Linked DNA regions of Homo sapiens: region 2 is linked to region 1. Evidence: promoter capture Hi-C in human tissues and cell types (Jung and others, 2019). All regions are on one chromosome and are shown on one strand. The core of a region is centred on a gene start or on the middle of the fragment in contact, and the rest is flanking DNA. Distances in the headings are between cores, read along the strand shown.

The links. Contacts are between HindIII fragments. The study calls those that stand out against the background at their distance.
Region 2: a contact is called between a fragment that was not itself captured here and the fragment with the promoter of PCDH7 in region 1, in 1 of the 25 tissues and cell types used here (H1 embryonic stem cells).

What each region holds. Positions count from the first base shown.
Region 1 is chr4:30,717,096-30,722,834 of GRCh38, forward strand. It overlaps PCDH7 (protocadherin 7), which reads left to right and starts at 3,274. Exons shown (of 3, transcript NM_001173523.2): 1 at 3,274-5,739. The coding sequence starts at 4,328. It overlaps LOC124900844, which reads right to left and starts at 2,026. Exons shown (of 1, transcript XM_047416545.1): 1 at 1-2,026. The coding sequence starts at 812. The coding sequence ends at 246. RefSeq lists an enhancer at 4,083-4,793. The HindIII fragment of the contact is 10,727 bases long and covers 1-5,739 here.
Region 2 is chr4:31,056,422-31,062,397 of GRCh38, forward strand. All of the region lies in intron 2 of PCDH7 (protocadherin 7), which reads left to right. Among named protein-coding and RNA genes, the nearest start is that of LINC02497, 110 kb to the right of the region's middle. The HindIII fragment of the contact is 5,592 bases long and covers 1-5,470 here.

The DNA of each region.
Region 1 (5,739 bases), core at 2,024-4,523:
TGAGGTCTGGTACCGGGGGGGATTAAGTCTCCCGGTTCCATTTAATGAAATTGCTGAGCACTTGTGACACTGGCTCTAAGACTGCGGAAATGGGGCGGGGGTGGGAGAAACTGCTTCTCTCTTCATTCATCCTCTGCGCCGGCGAGAGGAGAGAGTGTCAGCCCCTAGAGAGGGGGCGGAAGAGGACTGGGAGCTCCAGCCGCCGCAAGGGCGCCCCGAGGGCTCCTCTCACCTCCCCCGTACCCCTACCCCGCCCATTTCCTTTGCTTGCCCAGAACGGCGCTGCAGGGCAAAGCCGCCGCCACTTCTTTGCTGCTCTGGCAGAAAGGTCGGAGCCTGGGACTGATGGGGGTGGGAGCAAAGCCAGCAGGCTTCTTGGCCCCCGCAGTCTGTCCTCGCTGTTCTCCATGCAGCACACGTCGGACCCATTTCCCACGCTGGCTTGGCTCCGCCGCGAAGTTGGTAGGAATGAGAGTGAGGAGGGCGGGCTGGAGACTTCCTCCCGCTCGCAAAGAGGAAACCACTCCACTGTGAAGGACGCGCTGCAACTCCCTAGTCATCCGGGAAGAAATGTGCAGCGCGCTGAGGAAAAGCCGCCCACTCCTTCGCGCCCCGCTCAAGTGTGCGCCTGGAGAGTGCGCGCCAGAGCCGCGAGCAAATGCTTTGAAGATGCGGAGAGGCTTATTCAAGTTTATGGTCTGGAGAGGGAAGAGGGAGTGCACAACGTTTCTGCCCAAGCGGCTGCCTGAAGTTTGCAAAATCTTAGTAAGGCGATGAGGGGAGTGAGTGCACTGCACCATATTGCCGCGCATCGGAATGCACGGCGCAAGGCCGCGGAGTGGAGACGGCTTCTCCCATTTGCCTCCAACCTGGGAAAAAGGGGAACCAGGGTCGGAGGTTTGGAGAGAGGCAGGCGTTCCGATAAACCCGGGTTCTTGCCAAATGTAAGAGGGATTTGGCTTTACTGCCACTTAGCCGGCCGCGAAGGCGCTGCGGAGCCCACCCCCGCCCCCGGCTCGAGACTGCGGCGGTGCGCACTGAGCCTGCGCGCGGGGCTTTTCTCGCTGATGCTGCAGATACAGAGCTGAGAGGTTCGGGTGCCAGCAGCGGGAGGGTTAGCGGGAAGGCCGGGTTCCCTGCCCTGGCCTCGGAGGAGGAGCCACCACCCCTGGGGTGATGCTACTTTCACAGACTGGAAAATACTCGCCAGCTCCCTGACACACACTTAGACACACTTCCATCCAACGGGCATCTACGATCCCCTGTAGGGAGAGCTTGGAAATCTCTGCCGCCTCTCCCTCCTCATTCCTGTTCCTGCGCCCGCCCAAACAACCGCGCGCTACATCTGCTCGTTGACTTTATTGGTGTTTGTCTTGTTTAAATCATTCTGCCTCGTCACCCAGGTCTCGTAAAGAATACCCACACTGGACAGATTTTATTTTTTCGGCTTTAAATTTTTCTTTGAGGGGAGGCCCTTAAATGTGTATGGATACGTCAGGCGAGCTGAAGACTAAGCAAATCCCAGCAGCGGCCCTTTCTCTCTTTCGAGATGGTAAAAATTCTCCCCAAATACCTACAGTCCGTCTCAGTCGTCTTAATCCTAGCCGGGCCTCTTCGTTTACAGCCACTGAAATAAATGAGTAAATGGCTCAGTTCAAAAACACAACCAGACCTGAGATCTGATGAGGCCGGCTGCGGTGGTCGTGAATGAAAATTGGAGAAGCCTTGCTTCAGGAAATAGGGACAGTCAAGGGACACAAAGTCAAAAGGAGAGATGGGAAAGCTGGGGACACTTTGGTACACAAAGTTGCCATTAAAGTTTATTTCCCTTTTATCCAGATAGGTGACGCTACACTTTGCCAGTTACTAAAGGCTGCAGGTTTCTGCTCAGAAAATAATATCGAGGTTTCCAACATGTGTTTATTCCCCAGGCGCGCACACACGGTCTACCCCCGCAAGCAAGCACGACGACAGGAATGTCAAGCATTTAAACAAAGACAGACATCCTTCACCCTCCACCCACCGCCGCCCCTGCCCCCCGCAACCATCCAAAGTCTGAGCTCCCAAAAAAGGATCTTTCTCCAGCTCTCTGGAGTTTGATGTTCTCTCTTCACTACTGCAGCCCGTCATGGTTTTTCAGAACAGAGTGGCTTTCTGGGCGCTCGTAGGTTCCCCAGGACCCCGATAACCATGTCCTAACCAAGATCCTAAATCGCGAACCGGAGACACTTTCCGGGGGGAGGAGGACGTCGTCTGAGAGGGAGGGAGAAGGAGAAACCTATCCTGACACCAGCTCCGAAAGCTCTCACGCGTGAACTGGGCATTAGTCAAGGGAGGAGGAAATTTACCAGCCCGAGGGAGGGAAAACAAGTCCCCCAGAGAAGACGGCGGTACTCGCTAGGGAGGGGGACTGGGCTTTGGCTTAAAGAGGACTGGCTGGGATTGGGCACACTTTGAGCGGCCCCTGGAGCTGAGGCTGGGCTTTCCCGAGCGCGGCGGCTGGCTGACGCTCCCTCCCGCCTCCTTATCCCGGGCCCTCCTCCCTCGCTCTCTCCTAGTGTGTAGTTTCGGCGGCTCGGCTGCTACTGCCGCCGCCGCTGCAGCAGCAGCGTCAGGGACAAGCCTGATCCGTGAGCGAGCGAGCACCCAGCAGCAACCACCACTTTGGGCAACTTGCGGGTTTCCTGCTCGCGGGTAGCGAACGGGAGATTCCCACTAGCGGTTCAGTGTCTCCGAGCCGCTGCAGCCCGAGGGGCGGCGGGAGCGCCCGCACCAGACTCTCCCAGACGCGAAAAGGGACGAGACAACTGCGGAATTCACCAGCCGTGCCAGGGCACTTCCGAGGCCACAACCGACTGACACTTTTTCTCCCCTTGGCAAACTGGATTTTTTTTTTTAAGCTACTTGGCAGCTGTCTCTGACTCCACCTCCCCCTCCACCCCCGCCCGAAAGCCTTTGGCTTTTCTTCGGAAATCCAGACAGAATTGGGCATCTTTGTTAATTGCCGTTGGGGACGCCCGGCCGTGCGCTTTCGCCGGCTAACGTCGCCTGTGCTCCGAGCCTGGTTTGCTCACCTTTGAACTGCAAAGGGATCAAGTTCAGCTTGAGTTCCCTGCATTGGGAAGGAGAGAGAGCGTGCAAGAGAGCGAGTGGGAGAGGGGGAAAGGGGAAAGGAGAGGAGGGAGGAGAGAGAGGAGGGAGGAGAGAGAAAGGGAGGGAGGGAGGGGAGGGATCGAGAGAGAGCGGGGAGAGAGAGGCTGCAATCTCCTCCCTGAATCGCGCACAGCGCTGCAGATCCCACTGCTCCGACATGCGGGCCGAATGCAGGTGAGAAAAGGCACGGACTCTGCGGCTGCGAACCCAAACTTGGGCACCGCACGGTGCGCACTGCTCAGCCTTCGCCCCCGTGGGCGAAAGGCTGCTGCGGTTTCAGGCGGCTGCTTCGTGACTAATGACCTTGCGCAGAGTTGTTAAGAAAAAAGAGAAACCCGCGCTCTCCGGGGTGAGAAGGGACTGACTCTGGGCGTCTCTGAAGATGGCTCGGGCTTCTCTTTGGCGCGCCGGGGGGACCCTGACACTGACCGCTCTGTGACGCGAGTAGTCTCCCCTGCACCGTGCCCGAAGCGACGTGCCGGGGGATTTTTCATTCTCGATCTGTTGACTGGCTCCCCCGCTGCATGAGCAGAGTCGGAGTTGAGACTGGCTTGTTGCTGGCCCCAGCGCCTGGTGCAGGAAGCGACTCACGTTTGTCTGGGTGGCCGGAGCCGGAGCAGAGCCTGGGTTTGGAGTGAGTGCCTGGAACGTGAATTGGACTCAACTCGAGTAGCAGCAAAGACCAGCGGGCTGGCAGGCGGGGGAGGCTGCAGGCTCATTCCCCACCTCTTCCCAGCCCCACTGCCCGTCTGCCGGAGCGGTTCTGGCCCCTTCCGACAGAGCGGGGACTAGAGCCGGGGATTCTCCGCCCGCTGAGGGGATGACTCTGGGTTGGGGGAGCGCCGAACCCGCGGCGCGCAGTGTCCCGTGAACTGTGAGTACTGCGACTGAACGGCGGCAGGCGAGCGGGCGATTAGCACCCATTGCATGAATTATGAAACAATAACTTTCGGAAGAAGCAGGAGGAAAAAAAGAAGCATCTATCGCTGCCCTCCCACCCCCATTCCCGGCCAACTCTCCACGCCGCTTTTGCCCCCTCCCTCCCCTCCCTCTCGCTCCTTCCTTTCCGGGAGAGGGGAGAGGACTCGGGGGAGGGCAGGCGGCCGGCCCCGGAGGAGGGGGGCGCCGAGGGGGCTGTGGTTAGAAGGAGCAGTAGCAGCAGCAGCAGGAGAAGATGCTGAGGATGCGGACCGCGGGATGGGCGCGCGGCTGGTGCTTGGGCTGCTGCCTCCTCCTGCCGCTCTCGCTCAGCCTGGCGGCCGCCAAGCAGCTCCTCCGGTACCGGCTGGCCGAGGAGGGCCCCGCCGACGTCCGCATCGGCAACGTGGCTTCAGACCTGGGCATCGTGACCGGATCGGGTGAGGTGACTTTCAGCCTGGAGTCCGGTTCCGAGTACCTGAAGATCGACAACCTCACTGGCGAGCTGAGCACGAGCGAGCGGCGCATCGACCGCGAGAAGCTGCCCCAGTGTCAGATGATCTTCGACGAGAACGAGTGCTTCCTGGACTTCGAGGTGTCGGTGATCGGGCCCTCGCAGAGCTGGGTGGACCTGTTTGAGGGTCAGGTCATCGTGCTTGACATCAACGACAACACGCCCACCTTCCCGTCGCCCGTGCTCACGCTCACGGTGGAGGAGAATCGGCCGGTGGGCACACTTTACCTGCTGCCCACAGCCACCGACCGCGACTTCGGCCGCAACGGCATCGAGCGCTACGAGCTGCTCCAGGAGCCCGGAGGCGGCGGCAGCGGCGGCGAGAGCCGGCGCGCCGGGGCGGCCGACAGCGCCCCCTACCCCGGGGGCGGCGGGAACGGCGCGAGCGGCGGCGGCTCGGGAGGCTCCAAGCGGCGGCTGGACGCATCAGAGGGCGGCGGCGGCACCAACCCCGGCGGCCGCAGCAGCGTGTTCGAGCTGCAGGTGGCGGACACCCCGGACGGCGAGAAGCAGCCGCAGCTGATCGTGAAGGGGGCGCTGGACCGCGAGCAGCGCGACTCCTACGAGCTGACCCTGCGAGTGCGCGACGGCGGCGACCCGCCTCGCTCCTCGCAGGCCATCCTACGGGTCCTCATCACCGACGTGAACGACAACAGCCCCCGCTTCGAGAAGAGCGTGTACGAGGCCGACTTGGCTGAGAACAGCGCCCCGGGGACCCCCATCCTGCAACTGCGCGCAGCCGACTTGGACGTGGGGGTCAACGGGCAGATCGAATACGTGTTCGGGGCGGCCACCGAGTCGGTGAGGCGGCTGCTGCGCCTTGACGAGACGTCCGGCTGGCTCAGCGTCCTGCACCGGATCGACCGCGAGGAGGTGAACCAGCTGCGCTTCACGGTCATGGCCCGCGACCGCGGGCAGCCCCCCAAGACCGACAAGGCCACCGTGGTCCTTAACATCAAAGACGAGAACGACAACGTGCCGTCCATTGAAATCCGCAAGATTGGGCGCATCCCCCTCAAGGACGGGGTGGCCAACGTGGCCGAGGACGTTCTGGTCGACACCCCCATCGCTCTGGTGCAGGTGTCCGACCGAGACCAAGGCGAGAACGGGGTGGTCACCTGCACCGTGGTGGGCGACGTGCCCTTCCAGCTCAA
Region 2 (5,976 bases), core at 1,425-3,924, 340 kb after region 1:
AGGAAAGAAAAAGAAAGAAGGAAAGAAAGAAAGAAAGAAGAAAGAAAGAAAGAAAGAAAGAAAGAAAGAAAGAAAGAAAGAAAGAAAGAAAGAAAGGGGAAGGGAAGGGAAGGAAGGAGAGAGGGAGAGAGAGAGAGGAAGGGAAGGGAAGAGAGGAAGGGAAGGGAGGAAGGAAGGAAAGGAGAGAGAGAGAGTGAAAGACAGAGAGAGAGAGGAGAGAGAGAGAGAAAGAGAGAGAGGAGAGAGAGAAAGAGAAAGAGAGAGGAGAGAGACAGCAAGAGAGAAAGAGAAAAAGGAAGGGAAAGAAAGAGAAACGAAAGCAAAGAAAAGAAAGAGAGCCCAATGATGGGATTTCACCATGTTGGCCAGGCTGGTCTTGAACTCCTGACTTCAGGTGATCCTCCCTCTTTGGTCTCCCAAAGTGCTGGGATTACAGGCATGAGCCACCACACCCAGCCAACATTTTCTTAAATAGTCATCCATTAGTCAAATATCCAAATGGGACAAACTTTAAATATGTATGTTTGTCAATGAATATCTTAATTCATTTGTGTTACGTATTAAGGATTTGTTTATTTTTAGAAAATTTCAGTGTTTAGGAAAAAATGCGTTATTAAATAAGTTTGGCCTTTGTTTAAGTCTATTCATTTATAAATAGTATATTCATAAATGTACTTTATTAGAAATATTTGTAAACCTGTGAGATCTTTTTTCTTATTCTTTTGCCAACTTTCAAAAATAGTTTTACTTTCATAAGTAGAAAAGCTTAGTCATATTATATTTTCCTCTCTTCTTCTACACCTAGCAGAAATTGACTTTATTTTTCTGACTCCATTTAAATAATAATCTCTCCTCCATTTTTCTTCAAAATAAAGTCATCATAGAAAATGGGAAGATGAAGCCATGGTCCTAAAGCACAGTCTCTGAAATAGAACAAGCATTGTCACTTTCAACAGTAGTGATGCAGAGGTGGGTCATTGCATGAGTCTCCTGGTATAAACATATATGAACTTTTCTGTACTGGGGATTAGAGAAGAGATTAAAACTTTCCTATATGTCCGTGAGAACTGGGCTGTATGTGATAATACACCTGATGATTAAGGTCACATGCCAGTTAGCTATGGGAATCCAATTCTGTCAGTGAATTCAACTACCAAAGTAACACCATGTATTCCCTAAGAATGAACAAGAAAATCAAGCTTAGGTATATCCCTTTAGGAATCAACAGTAGTGTGATCATTTAAATACATTGTTTAAAAATCTTACTTAGTTTAGAAAAATTTATTGCTCATTACTATACATCTCCATCACTACAACCAGCTATTTCCTCATCTAACCATTTCTTTAGAAGAGGCTTACTTAGCACCTACTAAATACATATAGCACAATCAGAATGCAAAACCGATGAAATATCCTTGTAAGATACTTACTCTCTTAAAGAGGAGACAAAACATGTACCTGGAATATGTACATATTCTTTCTAACTGCCTTTAGAATCATAGAAAGCATGATTAGGGGTTCAAAGAAAAGATAAATCTTCTAGTGGATGCTCACAGGAGAGTCTTAGGATTTAAATATCCAATTAAGTTGAAATGACCTTTGACAACTGAAAGCAATAAGATTCCAATGAAGTATCTGCTATAAAATAAGAGTTTGCAGCTTTGAAATAGTTTTATTTAGAAGCAGTAGAGAAAAATTTGGCTTCTCTGACACAACCAAAAAAATTAAAATTAAAGTAAAATAAAATAAATCCCTCAACAAACAACACACACACGCAACAAAAATACCAATGAACAACTTTCATCAATTAATTCTGTGCAAGGAATTGGGTGATACCCATTTTCACTTAAAGAGTTTTTACTGTATTCTTTGTTTTAATCCATTCTGTTTAATAGAGTATGCACAATGGTGAGGTTCTGTGAAATTCATCTTAAATAATGTTGATGCCTGGGTAAGCAATATTAATTTATTTGTTAAAGGCTTGTTGATATATGCCAGTCTACTGAAGCAAAATTTACCCCAAAATTTATAAATTTAACAGACAAAGAGTATGATCCTTAAGATCATTTTAGTTAGGCAGAGTGCATTTACCTGAGAAGTAAATGATATATATGACATTTTGTTCCAAAGATGGTTTTCTAATTTTTATTACTTTATTTAATGAGCTTCCTGAGGACAATAAATATAATTTGACCATTGATTTAATTAAGGAGGTAAAAGACCTTCTTATAATGTAGGTAATATTTTTGGAAATTAATGAATGAAAGTTAATTGCCTGGCAGTCTTTCACACCAACTGTGTTGGCAATCTAGTGGCAAACCTAATAAACACTCTCTCATGTAGACAAATGTGCTTTAGATAATGATGGAGTTTTTGAGTGGGTGATTCCAGAGACAGTCATTCGAAAGGAGGACAATAGAATGAATAGAGCCAAATAGAAGAATTAACAAAAGCAGTGATACACAGAATTGTGAAGCTATTTACAGGCTGACACTCACTGCCACATGTAACTGACTGCCGATCTAAAACCTATTGTTCCATTTTTATTGGGTAAAAGTCATAGGCTCTAATTCAATACTTAAGAGAAATTGAAGCAATCTTTCCCTTATATGGAGAAACCTGATGCTTAAAAAACATTTCAAGTTTTTTTCCTTTAGAATTTACTTCTTAAAATTGTGATATTTGTCTTGACTTCATACCATTATGTCTTAAGATCATTTTTGTATTTGCTGACTTTCATATGGTTTTTGAAGTGTATATTTATATTTGAATTAACTTGAAATGACAACCAATTTTGAAGCAAATCTTTATTCTGAGGAGAAATGTTCTATGAATGCTTGATGACAGCATCTGTATGACTTGCATAACTTCTTAAAAATTGTGTTCTTAAAATAATAGAAATCAAAACTCTTTTGTTCCTAATAACACTTCTGGCAACAATGTATGATTACTATTTTTTAAAATCAATTTAGGTATAGTTATCCAGGCCTCTTCAACACTCATTGAAAGCATGACAGTAGAATTGTATCAATTCAGATTACTCAGTCATATTTATTCATAATCTCCAGAGTATATGTAAATATTTTCTTCTAAAGATTAAGCTCCATGTCACTTCAGTGTTGTTTTATTTGCCCTCAAAATGATAACAAGTTAAACTGTTTGAACACATAGTAAAAGAATATGATTTTCAACTTGAGCTAGACAGATGTACATTTCCATTTGTTCAATAATCTGGGAAAACGAAAATTTATATTTAGTGAAGGACAGTTGAGTCAGATATCTCTGAATTCTATTCTGTGTTTCTAATAACCCAAATAAATTACAATCAAGAGAATATTTTTCAACAATTATATGTAATCTTATCTCCATTGATTTATATGTATGTATAATTGAAGCATTATACATATTTACTATATAAAGTATTCTTTTATTACCTGTATAAAATATTAGGCTGAAAGTAACCTTAGAGATCATCTAATCTATGTTCATTCTACAAGTTGAAGAGATTGAGCAACATCAAGGCAAAATAACTCATAAAATTACACAATTATTGAAGCATAATGATGGCTAGAATCATTATGATGCCAGCTTTTCTTTGTTTAGTCAGAGATACCAGACCAAAGAAATGTAGAGTGTGCTGATTTCCATTAAGAGGGCCTTTATCTTTAAGTAGAAATTTATACAAATGTGGCTAAATCCCATAAAGTATAAATCAGTGGCATCTGGTTGCAAGCTCATTTTTCCTTTGCTCTTGTAAGCTGGGAAGAGATGGATATTTTCTGGACACATTGTCCCCAATCTTGGTTATGAAAGTAGATATCTTTGTATGATAATAAATTACTTCCCTTAGCATTTAAATGACTAAGACCGTACTCACTGACTGTTTATTTATTTGGGGTCACTTAATTATACTTTTGCTAGCATTCATGTATAAAGAAACCTTTATTTCTTACATTTCTGAAGAGCTCCCTGTATCCAGCTAGGTTCTTAAATGCTTTTGTCTTCCTCATTGCCGTATTGTTTGATGCCCCTTGGTGGCCAAATATTTAATTAAAGTCCCTTGAGGGGACAGTTTTCATGATTTGTTATTGGACATCTGCCAAAGCTTAATTCACCAAATTTTTGCCATCAACTTAGGTTACTTCTATGTATATTTTTAATACTGTCCATATGCCTTAAGTTTTAAATATTCCCCAACAGCAATCATTTCTTACCATCTCCAAAACCTAAACATATTCAATTTCAACATATATGAAGGTTAGTGTGTAATTTCTTCTTCTAATCTGCTTATAATTCTTTTAAGTTAGTGATTTTTCATTGTGTTTTTCTTTGAAGCACAAAGACTGTCAGCCATGAGGATGAAAATGTTGATTTAGTTAACTTAGATAATACATCAGTAATGATAAATATTATTTATTGAATGTCAGTTTTTCAACATTCTCTGTAGTGAGCACATAACATGCATCTATTTTTGCATTAAATTTCACTACAAATTTAGGGAAAGTTTTCATTATTCTCAGTAAAACAAGATGGGTTGTTAAGTAACTTGCTCAAATTTATGCCATTTATAAGGAGAGACTCTTCGTTTCTGTCAAGATCTCTTGGAATCCAGGTTTTAATAATTTCAAAATACAAACTTCTCTTAGAAAGTGCATGCCTGTCCCCTGTTTACTGACTTCATTTATTGTCATGTTGATTTCTATGGGATATGAAATTCTAGAACATGTGTAGTTTACAAGGAAGTTTTAAATTACACTGTCAGTGTTTTACTTACAAGTCTGTGGTTTGTATCATTTGCACTGTTCCCTGGATTGAATATTTGTGATTTTATTTTAAAATCTCTTTTAGCAGAAGCTATCTAGTGATAATTGCTGTATTAGGTTTGTCTCCCAACAGTGTTTGGCTCATGAAGTCTTTTTCATCTTTTAAATTGTATAATGCATAGGGTGTTTAGATAATAATATGATGATGCAAAATCTAAAGATTATAGTTTTAATTTTCTTCTAGAGAGTTAATCTTTGTTTCTTAACAGATCCTACCTTGTTTTGTCCCTAAGACTATTACTATCAGAAAATATAAAATTATACTTATTTTCTGTCATTATAAAACTTTTCTGGACTTGGAGAAAAAAAAAGAGTCTCCATGCACTTAAATTGATTTCTGTCTTTTGCAGTAACAAAGCAAAATATATATTCTGAGTCAAGAAAGAGTTAAAAGAATGTTTTAACAAAAGAGGCTTAAAAGTCAGTAATCTTAAATTCAGTGTAACAGAATTAGAGATTTTATTTTCTCCTTTTCTGGAATAACTGCAACTCCTGTAATATTCAAAGTATGGAGATTGAAAGTGAAATTTTTACTGATTTTCATTGAAATGATTGCTGGTTTGACTGAGCTGACCTTTGCTTTAAATCAGAATTGATTGACCAATTGAGTCAACATGGTTAAATTGGTTGTGCATATACACAGAGACTTTGTTTATTGAATTTAGGGTATTCTGAGTAACATAATTTTCCTCTGCTTCTCTTCTGCTCCAGGAAACACTCTACTTTATGATGCATTTAATAATGTGTCGGAAAGCAAATGGAAGTAGAACCATACACAAGGGAGAGTAACAGTGGATTCTGCAACTGTTTAACATCCAAGAATCCTTTCAGATACTCATGTAGTTTGTATGTTATATTGGTTTTTCATATTAAAGATGGTATCTAAAATGTGGCTTTTGTGAAGTTATCAGAAAACCAAAAGCCATTGGCAGTATGATAACCATCTATTACAACTGTATAATTTCCAACCTCTAAGAATATTCTAGGAGTACATCCTAGAACATTTGGATAAATTGGAATGCACTAAGGATATTGCATTCTATCTCTATTTCCAAGTCTAATTTTTATTGTTGCAACTGGATAACGCATAGAAAAGAAATCAAGTAATACATAAAGGAACCAATATAGATGCTAAGATTTGGGTGCAGGATAT